7 separate regions of the Homo sapiens genome follow, and regions 1, 2, 3, 4, 5 and 7 are each linked to region 6. The links are contacts of gene promoters, found by promoter capture Hi-C in blood cells and fetal thymus (Javierre and others, 2016). All regions are on one chromosome and are shown on one strand. Each heading gives the region's core, a stretch centred on a gene start or on the middle of the fragment in contact. The rest is flanking DNA. Distances are from core to core; before and after follow the strand shown.

Region 1 (2,871 bases), core at 366-2,865, 390 kb before region 6:
GGGACTAATATCCAGACTACACAAGGAACTCAAACGATTCAACAACCAAAAAAATCTAACAATCCTATTAAAAAGTAGGCAAAACACATGAATAGACATTTTTCAAAAGCATACACCCAACAGGTATATGAAAAAATGCTCAACATTACCAGTCATAAGAGAAATGCAAATCAAATTCACAATGAGATATCACCTTATCCTAGTCAGAATGTCTTTTATTAAAAAGACAGACAATGTTGGTTATCATGTGAAAAAAAGGGAACTCTTATATACCATTGGTGGGAATGTAAATTAGTACAGCCTCTATGGAAAACAGTATGGAGATTTCTCCAAGAATTAAAAATAGAACTATCTTTCCATCTAGCAATCCCACTACTAGATTTTTACAAAAAGAAAAGAAATTAATATATCTAAAAGATATGTGCACCAGTATGTTTACTGCAGCACTATTCACAACAGCAAAGATATGGAATCAACCTAAGTGTCCATCAATGGATGAACAGGTAAAGAAAATGTGGTATATATACACAATGGAATACTATTCAGCCATAACAAAGAATGAAATCAGGCTGGGCGTGGTGGCTCACCCCTGTGATCCCAGCACTTTGGGAGGCCGAGGCGGGCAGATCACAAGGTCGGGGGATCGAGGCCATCCTGGCTAACACTGTGAAACCCTGTCTCTACTGAAAATACAAAAAAAAAGTTAGTCAGGTGTGGTGGCGGGCACCTGTAGTCCCAACTACTTGGGAGGCTGAGGCAGGAGAATGGCGTGAACCTCGGAGGCGGAACTTGCAGTAAGCCGAGATCTCACCACTGCACTACAGCCTGGGCGACAGAGTGAGACTCCATCTCAAAAAAAAAATGAATGAAATCATGACATATACAGCAACGTGGATGGAACTAGAGGTCATTATCTTAGGTTAAACAAACCAGGCACACAAAGACAAGTATGATGTTCTGACTCATAAGTGTGTTCTAAACAAACGTGTTCACACAGATGCAGAGTGGAATGATACATAATGGAGTGGAAGAATGAGGAGGTGGGAGGATGATGAGAAATTCGTTAATGAGGACAAAGAACGTTATTCAGGTGATGGATACCTTAAAAGCCCTCACTTGACTGCAGCATAATCTATGCATGTAACAAAACTGCATATGTACCCATAAATTTGTACAAATAAAAAGTAAAAATAAATAAAAATATCATCTAAAATAGCATTACAAATATGAAATATTTAAGGATAAACCTAACACCAAAAAATACAAATCACTGCTGAGAGAATCAAAGAATGCTTAATACACGGAGACAAACCAGAACCACAGATGAGAAGATTCATATTGTAAACATGTCAGTTCTCCCTGAAATAATATATAGATTCAACACAAAATCCCAAGTCTTTTTGTAGAAATTGACAAGCTAGTTCTAAAATTTTTATGGAAATAGAAAGGGTTCAGAATAGCCAGGATAACTATAAATTTTTTTAAAAAAGACCAAATTTCGGCCAGGCGCGGTGGCTCACGCCTGTAATCCCAGCACTTTGGTAGGCCAAGGCGGGCAGATCACAAGGTCAGGAGATCGAGACCATCCTGGCTAACGCGGTGAAACCCCATCTCTACTAAAAAAATACAAAAAAATTAGCCGGGCGTGGTGGCGGGTGCCTGTAGTCCCAGCTACTCGGGAGGCTGAGGCAGGAGAATGGTGTGAACCCAGGAGGCGGAGCTTGTAGTGAGCCAAGATCGAGCCACTGCACTCCAGCCTGGGTGACAGAGCAAGACTCTGTCTCAAAAAAAAGACCAAGTTTAAAGTATCACACTAGCTGATTTCAATCCTCGGTATAAAGACATGAAGCTAGATCAATGGAATGTGGCTAGGAAATTGACTTAAACATTTATGGTCAATTGATTTTCAACAAAGGGAAAAAAGTAGTCTTTCCACACACTGTTAGATCAATTGCACATTAATATGCAAAGAAATGAAACTTGACTCTTACAACATATGTAAAACTTAACTCGAAATTGTTCACAGACCTAAATGTAAGAGGTAAAAAGATAAAATCTCCAGGAAAAAAAAAGTAAAAATCTTTGTTACCTTGGATTAGGTAAAGATTCTTAGATAGGACATAAAAAGTATGAACTATAAAAGAACCTGTTAAGAAAAAGACATAAACTGACAGAAAATATTTGTAAAGTACATATCTGATTAAGGACTGTTATATAAAGAATTATAGAATTCTTACAATATTAAAAAGGTAAACCTGAACATTTAACCAGACTATATGGATGACAAAAACAAAAGCCACAAAAGATACTCAACATCATTAACCACTAGAGAAATGCAAATTAAAGGCCAGGCGCAGCGGCTCATGCTTGTAATCCCAGCACTTTGGGAGGCCGAAGCAGGTCAATCACCTGAGGTCAGGAGTTCGAGACCAGCCTGACCAACATGGCAAAACCCCATGTCTACTAAAAATACAACATTAGCTGGGCATGGTGGCGCATGCCCATATCCCAGCTACTTGGCAGGCTGAGGCAGGAGAATCTCTTGAACCCAGCAGGCAGAGGTTGCGGTAAGCCAAGATCATGCCATTGCACTCCAGCCTGGGCGACAAGAGCGAAACTCCGTCTCAAAAACAAAAAAAGAGAAATGCAAATTAAAACAATGATATATTTCTACACGCCTACCATGAAGGCTACAATTAGGAAGACTCACTACACCAAATGCTGATGAGAATGTGGAGCAATTGGAACTCTCATATACTGCTGGTGGGAATGCAGTATGGTAGAATTACTTTGGAAGACAGTCTGGAAGTTTTTTATAAAGTTAAACATACTTACCATACAAGTCAGCAATCCCACAATAGATATCTATTT
Region 2 (2,748 bases), core at 3-2,502, 480 kb after region 6:
AAAGTTCATGGAGAGGCCCAAGAGTGGTCACCGTGAGGACAGCGCTCCAGGGAAAATGCCCTGGTCCAGGCAAGGACAGAAGAGGTGAAGTAAAGATCAGTGGCAGTTGCCATGACTACACCAGGCATATGAGAAATGATATCTAGATGGGCTGTCTGCTATAGCTGGGAGCTGGGCAGACGGCACTGGAGGGCTCCATTGAAGCAAGTAACCTTCTGATGAAGGGTGACTTGTTAGTAATGATGACTAATGTGTTTTCTTCTCTTTTTTTTTTTTTGGAAATGGAGTCTTGCTCTGTTGCCCAGGTTGGAGTGCAGTGGTGCAATCTCAGCTCACTGCAGCCTCTACCTCCCAGCTTCAAGTGATTCTCCTGCCTCAGCCTCCTGAGTAGCTGGGACTACAGGCATGCACCACCACAGTCGCTAATTTTTTGTATTTTTAGTAGAGGCAGGGTTTTACCATGTTGGCCAGGCTGGTCTTGAACTCCTGACCTCAGGTGATCCATCCACCTCGGCCTCCCAAAGTGCTGGGATTACAGGCACGAGCCACTGCGCCCTGCCAGCAAATGTTTTCTGATAGACGAAGGTGGTGGAAAGACACCAGTCACATGGAGGGTCATTTGATAAGTCTTGGCCACTTTGGAATCACCTTCTGGAGCAGCATCAGTGACTTGGGAAGCCAACATTTGAACAAATTTTCAGGGGCTTCTGGCACTGGCATCACCATGAGGAAAATATGCAAATGCCAAAGAGGGGAAACCTGTTTTTTTGACATCTTCCTGTCTCTCATTCCCAATATCCAATACTCCCGGATATTATAAACTCACCCCAGGAGCTCACATGGCCCTCACTGTACAGTGCCCATTCCAGGAGGGTGGCTGACTTTCACCTTATGAAATACTGCTTAATGAAGTATGAACAACCCGAATGCTTCCCTGTTTCCCAGGAGCGATTTGCATTTTGAAAGAGAAGTGTGTTAATCCAGCTGGAATTTGCCTGGATAGTGGAGTCTTCCCAGCTGGGCGGGGGGACGGTCTTCAGCAGGACATTTTCCTTCTTTATGCTGCAGCCTCATCATGGGAACATTCAGTAAGAACTTGCTCACCCTTCTACCACCAAATCTACCAGCCCACTTGCACCTTTAGCCACATCCTGTTACAGTGGGTAGACAGCCCGGCATCTCTTCTAAGGCCTGTCCTCCCATAACACCGTACCCCCAGCCCCATTTGCCCTACAAGGACATCATTTCTGTCCCCATTCTCTCTTGGCTCATTCTCATCATCAACAAACAGTGTAAAAGTATTATTTTTTAAATCATCATACACATATTTTGGGAAAAAGGGCGTAAACTCCTCTTGACCCTATAGCCTCCTTTAGCTGCTACAGTCTCCCTGCTCTCTTCCCTTTCCAGCAAACACTGTCTGCTTCCTCTTGTCCCATCAGCTCTTGAACTCACTCCTTTCAGGCTCCATCCCCACCACCCCACTGCATCCACTAATGCCAAGGCCACCTCCATGTGGCCACATCCAATGACCATCTCTCTGCCCTCAGGTCCCTGGTTGAACATGTCAGCAGCATTTGAGTAGCTGACCTCCTTTGCTTTCAAGAAACTTTTCCTGCTCTTGGTTCTCTTCCTGTCTCCCTAGCCAGATTTTCCTACTTCTCCCTTACTGATTCCTCCTAATTTCCTCCATCATGAAGCACTGGAGTGTCCCAGGGTTCAGTCCCACATGTCTTTCCTGTCTTCATGCACTTCCTTAGTGATCCTCAACATCCTCTGACCTTAACTGATGGAGAGCCGGTGACTCCCAAAGTTGTGTCTCCATTCCGTGCCTCTGTGGCACTCCAGACTTACATAACTGCCTCATTGCCACCTCCACCAGGGTGTCTAAGGAGCATCTCAAACTTTGCAAGTCCTCAAACAAACTCCTGATCTGCCCCCTGAAACTTCCTCCTTCCTTAACTGTTGTCATTTCAGTAAACGACAACTCCATTCTTCCAGTTGCTGAGGCCAAATCCTTCTGTCTATTCCTGACTCCTGTTTTCCTCTAACACGCCAAATGTAGCCTGCAGTCAAATCCCATTGGCCCTACCTTCTAAATACATTCCAATTTGGATCACTTCTCACCACCTCCCCACAATCACCTGTGTCTAAGACATTAGCCCTCATCTGGACTATTGAGCCAACTCTTGCCTGATTTCCTTGCTTCCATTCTTGTTCCCCACCCCACTTCTATCTGTTCACCCCACATTTGCCAGAATGATCTTTTAACAATGTATGTCAGGCCAGGCATGGTGGCTCATGCCTGTAATCCCAGCACTTTGGGAGGCTGAGGTGGGTGGATCACCTGAGGTCAGGAGTTCAAGACCAGCCTGGCCAACATGGTGAAACCCCATCTCTACTAAAAATACAAAATTAGCTGGGCGTGGTGGTGCATGCCTGTAATCCCAGCTACTCGGGAGGCTGAGGCAGGAGAATCACTTGAACCTGGCGGGAGGAGGCAATTCAAGATCGAGCCACTGCACTCCAGCCTGGCAACAGAGCGAGACTCTCTCTCAAAAAAAAAAAAAAAAAAAAGTAAGTCAAATATATTTTCTCTGCTTAAATCTCTCCAGGGCATTTTCACTTCATTCAGAGCAAAATACAAAGTCCTAAATAAGGGCTACATTGCTCTATGCAATCTGAGACCACCCCCACCCCCACAACTTTTCCATTTCATCTCTCCTCCTCACTCACTTCCCTCCCACT
Region 3 (2,784 bases), core at 244-2,743, 410 kb after region 6:
ATCAAACAGACATATCTAGAGCACTCTACCCAACAACAGCAGCATACACATCATTCTCAGTTGCACATGGGGCATTTTCCAGGATAAACCGTAGGTTAGGTCATAAATTAGGTCAAAATGTGGTATATACATGAAGCAGAGTATTATTTAGCCTTAAAAAGGAAGGGAATTCTGACATATGCTACAACACATGGATGAACTTTGAGGACGTTTTGCTCAGTGAAATAAGCCAGTCACAAGAAAACAAATATTATATAATTCCACTTATATGAGGCACATAGAGTAGTAAAAATCAAAGAGACAGAAAGCAGAATGGTGGTTTCCAGGGGCAGGAAAGAAGGGATAAGAAAGAGTCACTGTTTAAGGGGTATAGAGCTTGACTTTTACAAGATGAAAAAGTTCCAGGGATGGGTAGTGGTGATGATTGTACAACTTTATGAATATATTTAACATCACTTAACTGTACACTTAAAATGGTCACGATTATAGATTCTATGCTGTGTTTTCTCTTTCTTTCTTTCTTTCTTTTTCTTTTTCTTTTTTTTTTTTTTTTTTTTTTGAGACAGAGTTTCATTCTATTGCCTAGGCTGGAGTGCAGTTGCGTGATCTTGGCTCATTACTCCAGCCTCCACCTCCTGGGCTCAAGCGATTCTTCCACCTCAGTCTCCCAAATAGCTGGGAGTTCAGGAGCGTGCCACCACACCTGGCTAAATTTGTTTACTTTTTTGTAGAGATGAGGTCTCACTATATCTCCCAGGCTGGTCTTGAACTCCTCGGCTCAAGTGATCCTCTCACCTAAGCCTCCCAAAGTGCTGGGATTATAGACATTAGACAATGCTCCCAGACTATGTCATGTATATTTTACCACAACAAAAAAATTGAAGGAGGAAAAAAGGCTATTTGACTATTTTGATAATTGCACTATGGCCATAAAACATGTTAGAATAAGAGTGGGGGACATAAAGGAAGTCTTTATTACTTTTTTTGCAACTTTTCTGTAGGTCTAAAAGTAGACCAAAATAAAAAATGGCCATTTGAAAGTGCTGCTGATAATAAAAATATTATTTATATATAATGAAATATGGCAACATGGTGAAAACCTGTCTCTACAAAAAATACAAAAATCAGCTAGGCATGGTGGCGTGTGCCTATAGACCCAGCTACCAGGTGAGGGGAAGAGGGGGCTGAGGCAGGAGAATCGCTTGAGCCTGGAAGGTTGAAGCTGCAGTAAGCCGCGACTGTGCCACTGCACTTCAGCCCAGATGACAGAGTGAGACCCTTTCTCAAAAACAAGAACAAAACAAAAAAAGAAATGAACAACATTATAAACCCATTAGACCTAATGGACACTACACCCTACAAAAGCACAATGCACATTCTTCTCAAGGGCACATCGGACATCTCCTAGATGGGCAATGTAGTGAGACCTCATCTCTATAAAAAATTAAAAAATTAGCCAGGTGTGGTGGTGTGTGCCTGTAGCTTTAGCTACTTGGGAGGCTGAGGTGGGAGGATCACTTAAGCCTAAGAGTTTGAGGCTGCAGTGAGCCATGATCGTGCCAATGCAGTCCAGCCTGAGTGACAGAGACAGACCTTCTCTCTAAAAAAAACAACCACATAAAAGTAAAAGAAACGGAAAAAAAGTACGAAATAAATACAAAGCAAGAAGGGAAGAAATAAAGATTAGAGTAGATATAAATGAAATGGAATGGAAAAGCAATCGAGAATATCAGTAAAAAGTTGGTTCTTGGAAATGTTCAACAAAGGTGACAAATCTTTAATTGAACTTACCAAGAAAAAAAAAGAGAGAAGACAGAAATTACTAAAATCAGGAATGAAAAAAAAAAGAGGCCGGGCGTGGTAGCTGTAATCCCAGCACTTTGGGAGGCCTAGGCGGGCGGATCACTTGAGGTCAGGAGTTAGAGACTGGCCTGGCCAATACGGTGAAGCCCGTCTCTACTAAAAATACAAAAAATTAGCTGGGCATGGTGGCGTACACCTGTAATCCCAGCTACTCGGGAGGCTGAGGCAGGAGAATCTCTTGAACCCGGGAGACAGAAGTTGCAGTGAGCTGAGATTGTGCCATTGCACTCTAGTCTAGGTGAAAGAGTGAGACTCTGTCTCAAAAAAAAAAAAAAAAAAAAAAAAAAGAAAGAAAACAAAAACATCATTACCAACCTTGCAAAAATTAAAAGGATCATAAAAGTATATTACAAATAACTGCATGCCAACAAATTTGATATCATGGCCGGGTGCGGTGGCTCAGGGCTGTAATCCCAGCACTTTGGGAGGCTGAGGCGGGCGGATCACAAGGTCAGGAGATTGAGAGAATCCTGACTAACAAGGTGAAACCCGTCTCTACTAAAAATACAAAAATTAGCCGGGCGTGGTGGCGGGCACCTGTAGTCCCAGCTACTCGGGAGGCTGAGGCAGGGGAATGGCGTGAAGCCAGGAGGCGGAGCTTGCAGTGAGCCAAGATTGCACCACTGCACTCCAGCCTGGTCAACAGAGAGAGACTCCGTCTCCAAAAAAAAAGGAGTTCGATGGTGAAACCCCGTCTCTACTAAAACTACAAAAATTAGCCGGGTATGGTGGCATGCGCCTGTAATCCCAGCTACTCAGGAGCCTGAGGCAGGAGAATCGTTAGAACCCGGGAGGCAGAGGTTGCAGTGAGCCAAGATGGCGCCACTGCACTCCAGCCTGGGTGACAGAGCAAGACTCCATCTCAAAAAAAAAAAATTGATATCATATATGAAACGGACAAATTCCTAGAAAGACACAAAC
Region 4 (2,945 bases), core at 373-2,872, 390 kb after region 6:
GTTTGTGTTTGTCCACCTCTTGGCTTCCTCATGATCTTCTCCTTATCTTTGCATTTGTCTGATTTAGATGAGGAGGTCACTGCTTTGCATCTGTAGAGCACTCAATATATCTAAAAACTGCAAAACCCAACTCTGAGTTTACAGTCAGTAGCAAGCTGTTAACTCCTAGCACGTGGGGAATCATCTGTTAGAGTTGGAACAGTGCCCTGGGAAGTTTTACATTATTTGTGTGTCAAAGAATAGGAAGGAAGAAAAGAAGGAAGGAAGGAGATTTTAAAAAGAATGGATATTATTTAAAAAGGAAACACTTGGAAAAAATTATTTCATTTGTTCATTCCCTCACTCATATTAACTGAATAGGAAACTTTATTGCATGGGTGCATGAAATGTTACTCGAGCCCTCCTTATCACAGACACTGTCCTGGGTATGAGGAGCATAGGAGGGAGCATGACATCTGTGGTTGCAGGCGGCTCAGTGTTTATGGTCTGGCACCCCTCAGGAGGCTGGGTAATATACATGGCCCGGGTCACATAGCTGGAATACCTAGCAGCTTTCCCCCCGTTGCCATGGAGACCCTGGAGACGGGAAGAGGAGGGAAGGCCTTTCTGGTATCTTCCAGCAGCTCCCAACACCCTTTCGTCTTAGCCTGGGCCTTTTCTTCAGCTGCAAACACCCACGAGGGAAATGTGCAGCTGACCTCTGGGGTCCCCGGGCTGAGGGTGATGTACGCCACAGTGGAGGAGGACATTGGCGCTGCCTCAAGGCTGCTGAGCAGACCTGCCATGAAGAAAATTATGAGGTGAATTAAACTTTAATTTGATTTTTATTTGGTTTCAGCAACCAGTAAAGACATAGCGATTTCCCCAGCCCTCTCACTGGTTGGAGGAATGCTTTGAGAACATCTGTTTTATTAGCAGCAACAACAATAAAAGCCAATCCTATATTTGCAGAGGGGCTGTCTTCCAAGGCCCTCCAAGTACTTTTCGCTGATCTTATCTGCTCTCCTTTCCACAGCAACCCCAGAGAAATTGTATTTACTTGTAATTAAGCTTAACCGCTGACCTCTCCTGCAGCTCTCCCCACTACTGTCTGCTCAACCATTTGCATCGCAAAAAGGAAGACTAGCAAGGTGGAGATTGGGGGAGGCTTCGGGGAGAAGAAAGAGCAAGGTGGAAATAATTTTTTCCAAGTGTTTCCTTTTTTAAATAATATCCATTCTTTTTAAAATCTCCTTCCTTCCTTCTTTTCTTCCTTCCTATTCAACACTTACTGGGTATTCAGTACCAAGCCAGCATAAAGCTGTGTTCTGGGTTTTCAGGATTAGGAAGGTGTATAGAGATGTGTAGGCACAGGGAAAAAGTGAGAAAACATTTCTAGCTTGCATAGAATTCTGTTTTTCTGAAAGAATAGAAAAATATAGAAATTTCCTATGTTTTTCCTAAATATCTTCTCTTCCTTTTTCTCTTCATTTGCTAAGATACCTAAATTATTATTATTTTTAAAAAGACATAATTATCTTAATTACGTGACAGAAATTGACTATGCTTTAGGTACTAAAAGTGATGCTGTTTTAAATTCTACAAGCCCAGTGGATAAACAAAATATGGTATATTCATGTAATGGAAGATTATTCTGACAGGAAGAGGAATAAAATACTAAATGAAATACTACATTGTGGGTGAAATTTGAAAACCTTATGCTAAGTGAAAGAAGCTAGTTATAAATGACAACATATTGTATGATTCCACGTATGTGAAATGTCCAAAGTATGCAAATTCAGTGAGACAGGGAGTAAAAGTGGTTGCCAAGGTTTGGGAGGAGAGATAAATGGGGAATAACAGCTGATGGGTTTAGAGTTCCTTTTGGGGGTGATGAAAATATTCTGGAATTACCTAATGGTGATAGTTGTACAACCTTGGAGTATATTAATCAAAGTGTGCCCAGCTCTTTGTGAAGATGACTCTTTATTACCATTTTGAATCTGTTCCCCTCTAACAACACATATAATCAAAAAGTCATCAGATTAATGTGATGTTTATTAAGAATGTGTAATAACATGAATAAATGCTTCTTATAACATGAACTTTAAAAAGTGGGTTATAATGTGGGGTTGCAGTGTGCACATAACCACTGAATTGCACCATTTAAATAGGTGAATTTTGTACTATGTAAAATATATTGCAATAAAGCTTTAGAAAACATTCTACAGGCCTGGTAGCAGTGTGTAATCTCAGGGTGGAGGTCACTCATAAATTTCATTCCAAATACTTCACAGTCTGTGTAAGGGGTTTGAGATGCCTCACTATTCTTTGAGATAGGAAACAACAAGGGTTTGGTGATGGGAAAAATCCTGAAAATAAGGCATTGGATGAGCAAAGTAGGAGATGGTTGGCATAGGATGGCACTGAGCCTTCATGCACACTGGAAGCATGTTTGCACATGGATCAGCAATACATATGCAGTGAGGGAGGGTGCACATGTATTGCCAGACAAGTAATGCATATGGGGACCTGGAGGTTGGGTAGAAATGAGGATCAGGAATGTAGAGAGGGGCTCTTCACTGGGTTGATAAAATAATAATGCACCATGGCTGGGCACGGTGGCTCACACCTGTAATCCCAGCACTTTGGGAGACAGAGGCAGGTGGATCACCTGAGGTCAGGAGTTTGAGACCAGCCTTGGCCAACATGGTGAAACCTTATCTCTGCTAAAAATACAAAAATCAGCCAGGTGTGGTGGTGGGCGCCTGTAATCCCAGCTACTCAGGAGGCTGAGGCAGGAGAATCACTTGAACTCAGGAGGCGGAGGTTTTAGTGAGCCAAGATCGTGCCACTGCACTCCAGCCTGGGGAACACAGACAGACTCCGTCTGAAAAAAAAAAGCACCACAACTGAGGAGTTCAATTGCTTTTGAAGGTTAAAATACTGCAGAGAAGATTCTTAAA
Region 5 (2,726 bases), core at 147-2,646, 450 kb after region 6:
TTGGAAAGAAGAGAAAACTGATGATAATAGCTAAGAAGGAAGAGACGGGGGGTGGGGGGACGGGCAGAGGTTGGTTTGCATTACAAGCGCACTTACTTCTTTTTTTTCAAGACAGAGTCTGGCTCTGTCCCCCAGGCTGGAGTGCAGTGGCCCAATCTCGGCTCACTGCAAGCTCCGCCTCCCGATTCATGCCATTCACCTGTCTCAGCCTCCTGAGCAGCTGGGATTACAGGCGCCCACCACCACACCAGGCTAATTTTTCTATTTTTAGTAGAGACGGGGTTTCACCGTGTTAGCCAGGATGGTCTCGATCTCCTGACCTTGTGATCCGCCTACCTCGGCCTCCCAAAGGGCTGGGGTTACAGGCGTGAGCCACCGCGCCCGGCTGTGCACTTACTTCTTAGGCTGTATTTGTTTAGGTGACTGGGAAGGCCTGACGGAGACTATAGGTAAGGGAGAAGTCCCCACCAAGCTCCCCCACTGACAGGGGGTTTTAAATTTCAGTGTCAACTCATGAATCACTTAGGGAAATTTGCCTAGCTGTGAGATGGATGAATCTCTAACCGCCCATTTTCTTCCAGAGAGTGACTCATAGTGGCTAGGTTTGAATTTAAGGTGTTTGAAGTTAGTGCCTAACTCAGGCAAAAATGAAGATTTGATACCCCATCCATTTTCTACACCCCTTTCTCAGATTCTTAATTCACCCTAGGATGAGATTTACAGATGAGACTTGAAATGTTAAGACTCCCTGCCAGGACAGCAAGCAGGGTACATCCCTGCTAATTTTGGCTGGCTGCTAGTGGCTGTTTGGATCACTGGGTGAAGTTTTGCAAGGCTCTGTTCTAGTTCCACAGGAAAGAGTAAAATTCTGTTTCCTAGGGGCTGGATATAGGGCTGTAGTGAGTTGAACGGTGCCCTCCAAAATGGTATGTCTTCCAAAACCTGGGAATGTAATCTTTTTTGGAAAAAGGATCATTGCAGGAGTAATTAAGTTAAAGCTTTTGAGATGAGATAACCCTAAATTAGGATGGACTCTAAAGCCAGTGGCAAGTGTCCTTATAAGAGAAGAGAAGACAGAGCAGACGGCCTTTTGAAGGAGTGGCAGAGATTGGAATTATGCTGCCACAATGCAAGAAACGCCCGTAGCCAACAGAAACGAGCAAGAGACAAGGAAGGAGTCTTCCCTAGAGTCTTTGGAGGCTGTGTGGCTCTGTCACCAGCTTGATTTCAGACTTCTGGCTTCCAATATGTGAGAAAATAAATTTCTCTTGTTTTTAAGCTGCCTAGTTTGTAGTAATTTGCTGTGGCAGCCCTAGGAAACTAGTACAAGGACTAAGAGTCCGGTGGTGAGGTATTTGCTGACTTGGTGCGTAATTTAACTTAAAGAAGACTTAAAATTTAACTTAAAGACTCAAACCTTTACCTGAAGTCATAAAACCAGAAGGATGGAATTTCAGGCACTTATCAAGTACAAGGAGGACTGTTCAGGATGGGGACAAATATCAGTAAGTGATACTCTGCTTCTTAGAATACAGGATTTGCTCATGGCAGAATTAGAGAAGCATGATGTCTTAATCAGTGTGTGTGGGACTCTGGCTAAATAAAAATTTCTTGACATGATGAGTTACTGAAAAAATTTTGTTGTCAGATATCTTTTTCTGGAAGGAAAAGGTATGAGAACCAGCATTTATCAAATACCTAGTATACCTTTATATATGTTGTATTATTTATTCTCTACTCCTGGGTAAAACTGGTATTCTGATTTTTTTGATTAAGTAATTTAAGCAAGCTTTCAAGGGTTTATAAGTAGGAGGGCAGGTCTGACCTCAATTTTGGTCTCCACTGCACCACTTAATTTCTTTCCACAGTATCATACTGCCTCCTAAAAGAGGGTTTTATTTATCTTTTATATATATATATATTTTTAAAAAACAGCTTTATTATTGATATACAAACTGCACAAATTTAAAATATACAAGATTTGACATATGTATACATCCGTGAAGCCATCACTGCAACCAAGGTCACATCATCCCGTGTGCCCCTTTTTAAGCCCTCCCTCTCACCCCCTCCCTGCCCTATGCCCCCCAGGCAACCATTAAACTGCTTTCTGCCACTGTAGAGATGGGTTTGCATTTTCTAGAATTTTATATAAATGGAATAATATAGTATGTACCCTTTTTTGTCTGACTTTCAAGCAGTGTAATTATTTTGAGATTCATCCATGTTGTTGTATGAATCAATAGTTCATTTCTTTTCGTTGCTGTATAGTATTCCTATGTGTAAATGTGACACAATGTGTTTATCCATTCACTCGTCATTGGACATCTAGGATGTTTTTAGGTTTTTGGCTATTACAAATAAACCTGCTATGAACATTCATGTCCCAGTCTTTGCATAGACATAGGCTTTTTTTTTTCTTTTTTGAGATGGACTGTCACTCTGTTGCCTAGGCTGAAGTGCAGTGGTGCAATCTTGGTTCACTGCAACCTCCACCTCTCTGGTTCAAGTGATTCTTTTGCCTCAGCCTAAGTAGCTGGGCTTACAGGTGCCCACCACCACACCCAGCTAATTTTTGTATTTTTAGTTAAGATGGGGTTTCACTCTGTTGGACAGGCTGGTCTCAAACTCCTGACCTCAGGTGATCCACTTGCTTCAGCCTCCCAAAGTGCTGGGATTATAGACATGAGCCACTGTGCCCTGCAGACATAGGCCTTCATTTCTCT
Region 6 (2,864 bases), core at 37-2,536:
AAATAGTTAGAATAAGACCTAGTATTTCATAGCACAACAGGGTGACTATAGCCAATAATAATTTAAGTGTACATTTAAAATAACTAAAAGTATAATTGGATTGTTTGTAACACAAAGGATAAATGCTTGAGGCAATGGATACCCCATTTACCCTGATATGACTATTATGCATTGTATGCCTGTAGCAAAATATCTCATGTACCCCATAAATGTATACACCTACTATGTACCCACAAAAATTAAAAATTTTAAAATAAGTAAATAAAAAGTTTTTTAAAGGTCTTGAACTTTCGGGCTTCTGCCTAACTTTACTACTAGTGTAAGTGGGCCCCTTGAGATTTCAGCACCCCAGCATTTGTTAGTGACTGAAATAATGAAAATTCTGATCAGGCCCTTGCTTGCACATGTTGACAACTCTCTTTTTGCCCAATATCCCTTGTTCCTACAACATAATCATAAACTGCTGATGTACTGTTTCTTTATCAAGCAGGAGGAGATAATAACTTCAGGGTTACGAAAAAGTTTGCAGGAGGAATAAGTCCTTTGAAGTACTTTGAGGCCAGCTTCTGTCGCCCAGAAGTCTGATTGTTCAAGGAATTATCTGAGACTGAAGAAACACAGACTTTTTCCCTCGATTCCCTGAAACTCCCCCTCCCTGACTCGCTGGCCGCATAAACACTCTCTGCTTCTTCTTTTTGTTAGGGCGGATTTGAGAGATCTTGCCCTCCCGCCTTCTCGCTTTGGCCAAATCGAATAAACTTTTATCTCCAAGCACCTATATGTCAGTGTTTGGCATCAGCTACACATGGGGTACACGAGCCTGAGTCTGGGCTTCTACAACGCTGGGACCCTCGCTGTTCTTTGGAGCTGATGGTAAATTCAACAGAAAAGAGGCGCATGGGTAGAAAATGCAGCATTTCCTCTCAGATGCCAGATATTCATCTCCAAAGGTATTAAAAGGAGGGGGTGTGTGCCTGTGTAAAGAGGCTGGTCTTTTCCTAGCAGTACGATTTGGGCAAGTTGCTTGATTTCTTCAAGCCTTTCTTTTTCCGCCTGTCAAACAAAACAAAACAAATATCCCGTTTAGGACAAATTCACAATCCTTAAAGAGGGCAGGCAGAGCGATTGGAATGCAGATGAACCAATCCCTTCTCCTGCAGGTTGCGGAGCTGCAGAGGGACCCCGCCCCCTGCATTGTGCTTAGCTCTGATTGGCGCCTCGCGGAGGGGGCGGGGCCTGGGCGCGCCGAGCTCCGGCTGGGTCCCTGCAGGTCTTGGGGCCCGGGACTCTTCCTGGAGACACCGCCATGGCCGGGCTATCCCGCGGGTCCGCGCGCGCACTGCTCGCCGCCCTGCTGGCGTCGACGCTGTTGGCGCTGCTCGTGTCGCCCGCGCGGGGTCGCGGCGGCCGGGACCACGGGGACTGGGACGAGGCCTCCCGGCTGCCGCCGCTACCACCCCGCGAGGACGCGGCGCGCGTGGCCCGCTTCGTGACGCACGTCTCCGACTGGGGCGCTCTGGCCACCATCTCCACGCTGGAGGCGGTGCGCGGCCGGCCCTTCGCCGACGTCCTCTCGCTCAGCGACGGGCCCCCGGGCGCGGGCAGCGGCGTGCCCTATTTCTACCTGAGCCCGCTGCAGCTCTCCGTGAGCAACCTGCAGGTGAGCTGGGGCCCGCGGCTTCCCCAGGCGGGCTGTGGGCGGGGCGGCCACAGAGCGAGCCTTCACTCTCCCCAGAATTCTTCCCGGGAAGTGGAGCGTGGCTCGAACGGCTGTTGCTTCTCTGCCGCGCAGGCAGGTAGGTGGGCGTTGCAGCGTCCCAGATGTTGGGCAGCTGGGTACCAGGAATTTCCCACAAGCCTCCGCCACTGGGCCACGCACCTGGGGTAAATTCTCTGCCAGCAGCCCGAGGACTTCTCATCCGTGAGTGGTTCTCAGTCGTCTTGGGGCCCAGTGTCTCTATTAACTGTGCTCCTATTCTCTTTTTTTTTTTTTTTCCCTTTGAGACAGAATCTCACTTTGTGGCCCAGGCTGGAGTGCAGTGGCGCTATCTCAGCTTACTGCAACCTCTGCCTCCCAGGTTCAAGCGATTCTCGTGCCTCAGCCTACCGAGTAGCTGGGATTACAGGTGCGTGCCACCACACCCGGCTAATTTTTGTATTTTTAGTAGAGGCGGGGTTTCACCATGTTGGCCAGGCTGGTCTCAAACTCCTGACCTCACGTGATCCACCCATCTCAGCCTCCCAAAGTGCTGGGATTACAGGCGTGAACCACCGCGCCCTGCCTGGGCTCCTATTCTTAAAGGTTTTACAGGGCATAGAGATTGTTAGGTACTTAAGCACTTTAATATGTGACTTCAGGGTTTCTCACTCTCTTACCCTTCCTGAATTAAGCTTTTCCCTCCTGCAGCAAGACGCTAACGTACAATATCATGGACGATTACAATGATTACTGCAGTCTTTAGGCCTCCACAGGCATAGTGGCTCCTCAGTAAGATGCAGAGCTGATTGAAGGTGTATCTCTTCCTCGCCCTTTGCCCACCTTCTGGTGCAGGGCCACACTTACAACTCTGATGGATCTCTGCTGTCTCAGGGATGGGGTCACAGACACCCAGCTTGGGAGGCCGGAGACACACAGAGTCCAGGAATGGAGCCTGATTTGATGGAGGGTCTTTTTGACAAAGCTCTCACATTTGAGTTCAACTCTGAAAGTACAACATTGTTGATAAAGACAGGATGCAAGAAACTGATGCTTGATTAATCACTTTTCCATTTGCCTTCCATTCGTTGTCTCTTCTATTAATTCTTTGAAGTAGGTATTATATACCCCATTCTGCAGATGAAGAACTTGAGGCCTACCTAGGTTA
Region 7 (2,864 bases), core at 318-2,817, 430 kb after region 6:
TATATATATATATATGTAATTTACACGCACACATACATATACATATTTAAAATATGTGTATTTGGCCAGGCATGGTGGTTCACGCCTGTAATCTCAGCACTTTGGGAGGCCGAGGTGGGAGGATCGCTTGAGCCCAGGAGGTCAAGGCTATAGTGAGCACTCCAGCAGCCTGGGCAACAGAGCTGCATCCTGTCTCTAAAAATAAAAAGTAAAAATAATTAAAAAAAAGAAAATATGTGTGCTTGTATTTTCCCTTAGAAGTTACCCAACCTGGCCATTGGTGGTGACAGGCAATGCCCTTTCCAGGAAATCATTAACAATATTATTATAGCAATGGCTATAATTTTTAAAGCATTTATTGTGCCAGGTGTTGTCCCAAGGGAGTTATTTTATATGCATTTTTAAAACGTTATTCCTCACAGCAACTTTAGGATTTGATATTTTTGTCTTTGTTCTCTGCAGTTCCTAGGGCTAAAGGAAATGGCCCAAGGTCACATTGTATATACAGTGTAGCAAATCCTGGACTCAAACCCAGGTTTCTGGACACCATATCCTCAACTCTTCCCAGCCAGGCTGTCGGCCCCATTGCCTGGGCTCCACCTCTCCTCCCTGAGGCCTGTGACCTCTGCAGACTAGTCTCATGTCACCTTTCACTTGGATATAGCAATAGCAACCCCAAAGCACTACTCTCTACCTTCCCAACTCGGTCTGTTCTCCAAGGTGGAGGGAGGGAGTTTTCCAAAACATAAATCAGATCAAGGTGCCGCTCCAACTTCTTACCCTGGCTTTTAGCTTCCTGTTTGATGGGGAACCTCTGCCACTTCAACCTTCATCCACCATGCTCATCGACACTGGCCTTTGATTCCTGAACACACCAAGCTTTCCACCTTTGGATCTTTGCACTACTAGTTCTCTTCTGCAGGAATGCTCTTCTTCCAGTTCTCCCATGGCTAGCCCTTTGTCACTTGGCTTAAATGTCCCATTGTCAGAAGGCCTCCTCCCCCATGCTCTCCAAGGAGCTAGTCAGTCACTCTAGCACATTGTTCTAGTTAGTCTCTGCCTCACACTTATCACCATCTGACATTTTTTTCTCTTTTTTTCATTTTCTGTCCCCTCTTACAGTGTAACAGTCAAAGGCTGGAAGCGTTGCCTGTGTCTTTCACCACAGTGCCTAGAATAGTAGTTGGCACTTGCTAGGCACTCAGTAATTACTTACTGGATGAATGATTATCCTGTCTTTTCTCCTTTTCTTAGAGAAAACAGCCTTCTTAAGACAGATACCCCTCACACACGCCAACTAATCAGGTTTTCATAACATTCCCCACATTACTTTTCCCCCGTGGAATTCCAGCAGCCTGGAGCGGCAGATCCCTCTCACCTCTGTAAGTCAGCAGCGCCTCATCCAGGAACTCAGACGCCTTCCGGAAATGCTGGGAAATGTCCACCTCAGGAAAGTCATCCACCTCTACACCCAGGTACTGGATCTCCAGGCCAGTGTAGAATTCGGGGCCAGTGTAAACGCCGGTGCCATGCGCAGCATTCAGAATGTGGGTGATTCCCAGCCTCTTCAGCCTCCCCTTGTTCACAGCCACACTCCTGCGGGAAGAGGCAGGGACCTGTTTGCAAGAGTCGGAACTAGAAAGGTGTGTCACCACTGTGACGGTGAGCCTGCCTCAGCCAGTCTAGGGCCACAGCTGGGCAAGTGCCTCCTTTTCTGCCCCTGGTTGTCTGGGGATCACTGCAAATACCATTATAGAAAGAGTTGATGACTTGGCCTCAGCAAAAGGGAGAAAAGACATGCAGTTAGGCAAGGAAGGGCGAGATGAAGAGGCCAACAAAATGATGTGTAAGGAAACATTTGAATGATCCAGAGACTTCTAGTTTAAAACCCCATGCCTTGGGAATGGACATTCATCAAGGCACAAAAGTGGTAGGCACAAATAATAAAATTAAGTGTATTCCACATTAATATGGCATGCTATAATTGTCAAAATCCTTTCACATGCATTATTTTATGTTATCCTAACAATAAACTTAAGAAGTAGACAGGAACTCTAGTTTTATTCCCATTTGAAGATTATAAAACTCAATCTGAGAGCTCTTATAACTTCCCAAGATTGTGAAAGGAGAAAAAGACAACAAGAACTAGTGTTTTAGATTTCTAGTTCAGAGCTCTTTTTGCTGTAGCTGAATAAGTGCAGCTTAGTTTGAAGAGGCCCTGAGGACAGGTTGTCCGAGAAGGAACAAAAGCTTTTAGCTGAGGATACCTGGCGATGCCTGGGTTCTTAGTGACCGTAAGATGAATGCTTCTGTATCTGAAGATCTATTTAAAGATCACTTAAGACTTGGTGCCCAGCTCTGAGGATCAAGTTCTAGGCAACTGATTACTCCTTGGTGAAGATAAGACCCACTGTTCAAAGCTGTTTTCCCTATTCCCTCCCCTGAGGCCAAATTTCCTCCTTTGCTTCTGGATATCTGGATAATTACACTGGGAAAACATCTCATTAAGTATTCGATGAGTCAGCAAAAATTTGTTTCACTAATTAACCAAGTGGTCGCAATTATGCACTGGCATCCTAAAGAAATAGGATGTGAGTGAGTTGTTTTTGTTCTGGAAACCGCTGATAAACTTTTAGAAAATAATAGTTTTTGGATTATAAAAACAATGTCTACCTTAGGAAACCTGTACAAGTTAAAGGAAATCTAAAGAAGAAAATAAAAACTGCTTGTAAAAACACCTCCCAGAGAGAAACATTGTTCACATTTTCTCACATTTCCTAACTGTTGTCTATGCAAAAACATGCACACACATACACATACATCTGTTGCTCAATTAGCAGCACACTGTACATGTCTTCTCTTGT

Evidence for each region. The method cuts DNA at HindIII sites, captures the fragments that hold promoters and counts their contacts. A CHiCAGO score of 5 or more calls a contact.
Region 1: a fragment that was not itself captured here is called in contact with the fragment with the promoter of CREG1 in region 6 in 1 of 17 cell types (neutrophils); the score reaches 5.7 in neutrophils.
Region 2: a fragment that was not itself captured here is called in contact with the fragment with the promoter of CREG1 in region 6 in 11 of 17 cell types (fetal thymus, total CD4 T cells, total B cells and 8 more); the score reaches 14.5 in fetal thymus.
Region 3: a fragment that was not itself captured here is called in contact with the fragment with the promoter of CREG1 in region 6 in 1 of 17 cell types (non-activated CD4 T cells); the score reaches 5.6 in non-activated CD4 T cells.
Region 4: a fragment that was not itself captured here is called in contact with the fragment with the promoter of CREG1 in region 6 in 1 of 17 cell types (total CD4 T cells); the score reaches 5.8 in total CD4 T cells.
Region 5: a fragment that was not itself captured here is called in contact with the fragment with the promoter of CREG1 in region 6 in 8 of 17 cell types (fetal thymus, total CD4 T cells, total B cells and 5 more); the score reaches 7.9 in fetal thymus.
Region 7: a fragment that was not itself captured here is called in contact with the fragment with the promoter of CREG1 in region 6 in 8 of 17 cell types (naive CD4 T cells, fetal thymus, total CD4 T cells and 5 more); the score reaches 12.1 in naive CD4 T cells.

What each region holds. Positions count from the first base shown.
Region 1 is chr1:167,941,838-167,944,708 of GRCh38, reverse strand. The region is part of intron 1 of DCAF6 (DDB1 and CUL4 associated factor 6); the gene reads right to left. Among named protein-coding and RNA genes, the nearest start is that of MPC2, 6.2 kb to the right of the region's middle. The HindIII fragment of the contact is 3,401 bases long and covers 1-2,871 here.
Region 2 is chr1:167,074,736-167,077,483 of GRCh38, reverse strand. The region is part of intron 1 of GPA33 (glycoprotein A33); the gene reads left to right. Among named protein-coding and RNA genes, the nearest start is that of GPA33, 14 kb to the left of the region's middle. The HindIII fragment of the contact is 9,307 bases long and covers 1-2,748 here.
Region 3 is chr1:167,142,682-167,145,465 of GRCh38, reverse strand. No RefSeq gene overlaps it. Among named protein-coding and RNA genes, the nearest start is that of STYXL2, 50 kb to the right of the region's middle. The HindIII fragment of the contact is 6,442 bases long and covers 1-2,784 here.
Region 4 is chr1:167,164,138-167,167,082 of GRCh38, reverse strand. It overlaps LOC105371601 (a long non-coding RNA gene), which reads right to left and starts at 483. Exons shown (of 3, transcript XR_922250.3): 1 at 1-483. The HindIII fragment of the contact is 1,140 bases long and covers 1,053-2,192 here.
Region 5 is chr1:167,101,501-167,104,226 of GRCh38, reverse strand. All of the region lies in intron 2 of STYXL2 (serine/threonine/tyrosine interacting like 2), which reads right to left. Among named protein-coding and RNA genes, the nearest start is that of STYXL2, 8.8 kb to the right of the region's middle. RefSeq lists a silencer at 321-615. The HindIII fragment of the contact is 791 bases long and covers 1,001-1,791 here.
Region 6 is chr1:167,552,184-167,555,047 of GRCh38, reverse strand. It overlaps CREG1 (cellular repressor of E1A stimulated genes 1), which reads left to right and starts at 1,286. Exons shown (of 4, transcript NM_003851.3): 1 at 1,286-1,660. The coding sequence starts at 1,307. RefSeq lists a silencer at 1,148-1,597. The HindIII fragment of the contact is 3,087 bases long and covers 1-2,393 here.
Region 7 is chr1:167,117,981-167,120,844 of GRCh38, reverse strand. It overlaps STYXL2 (serine/threonine/tyrosine interacting like 2), which reads right to left. Exons shown (of 6, transcript NM_001080426.3): 5 at 1,379-1,596. Among named protein-coding and RNA genes, the nearest start is that of STYXL2, 25 kb to the right of the region's middle. The HindIII fragment of the contact is 1,371 bases long and covers 882-2,252 here.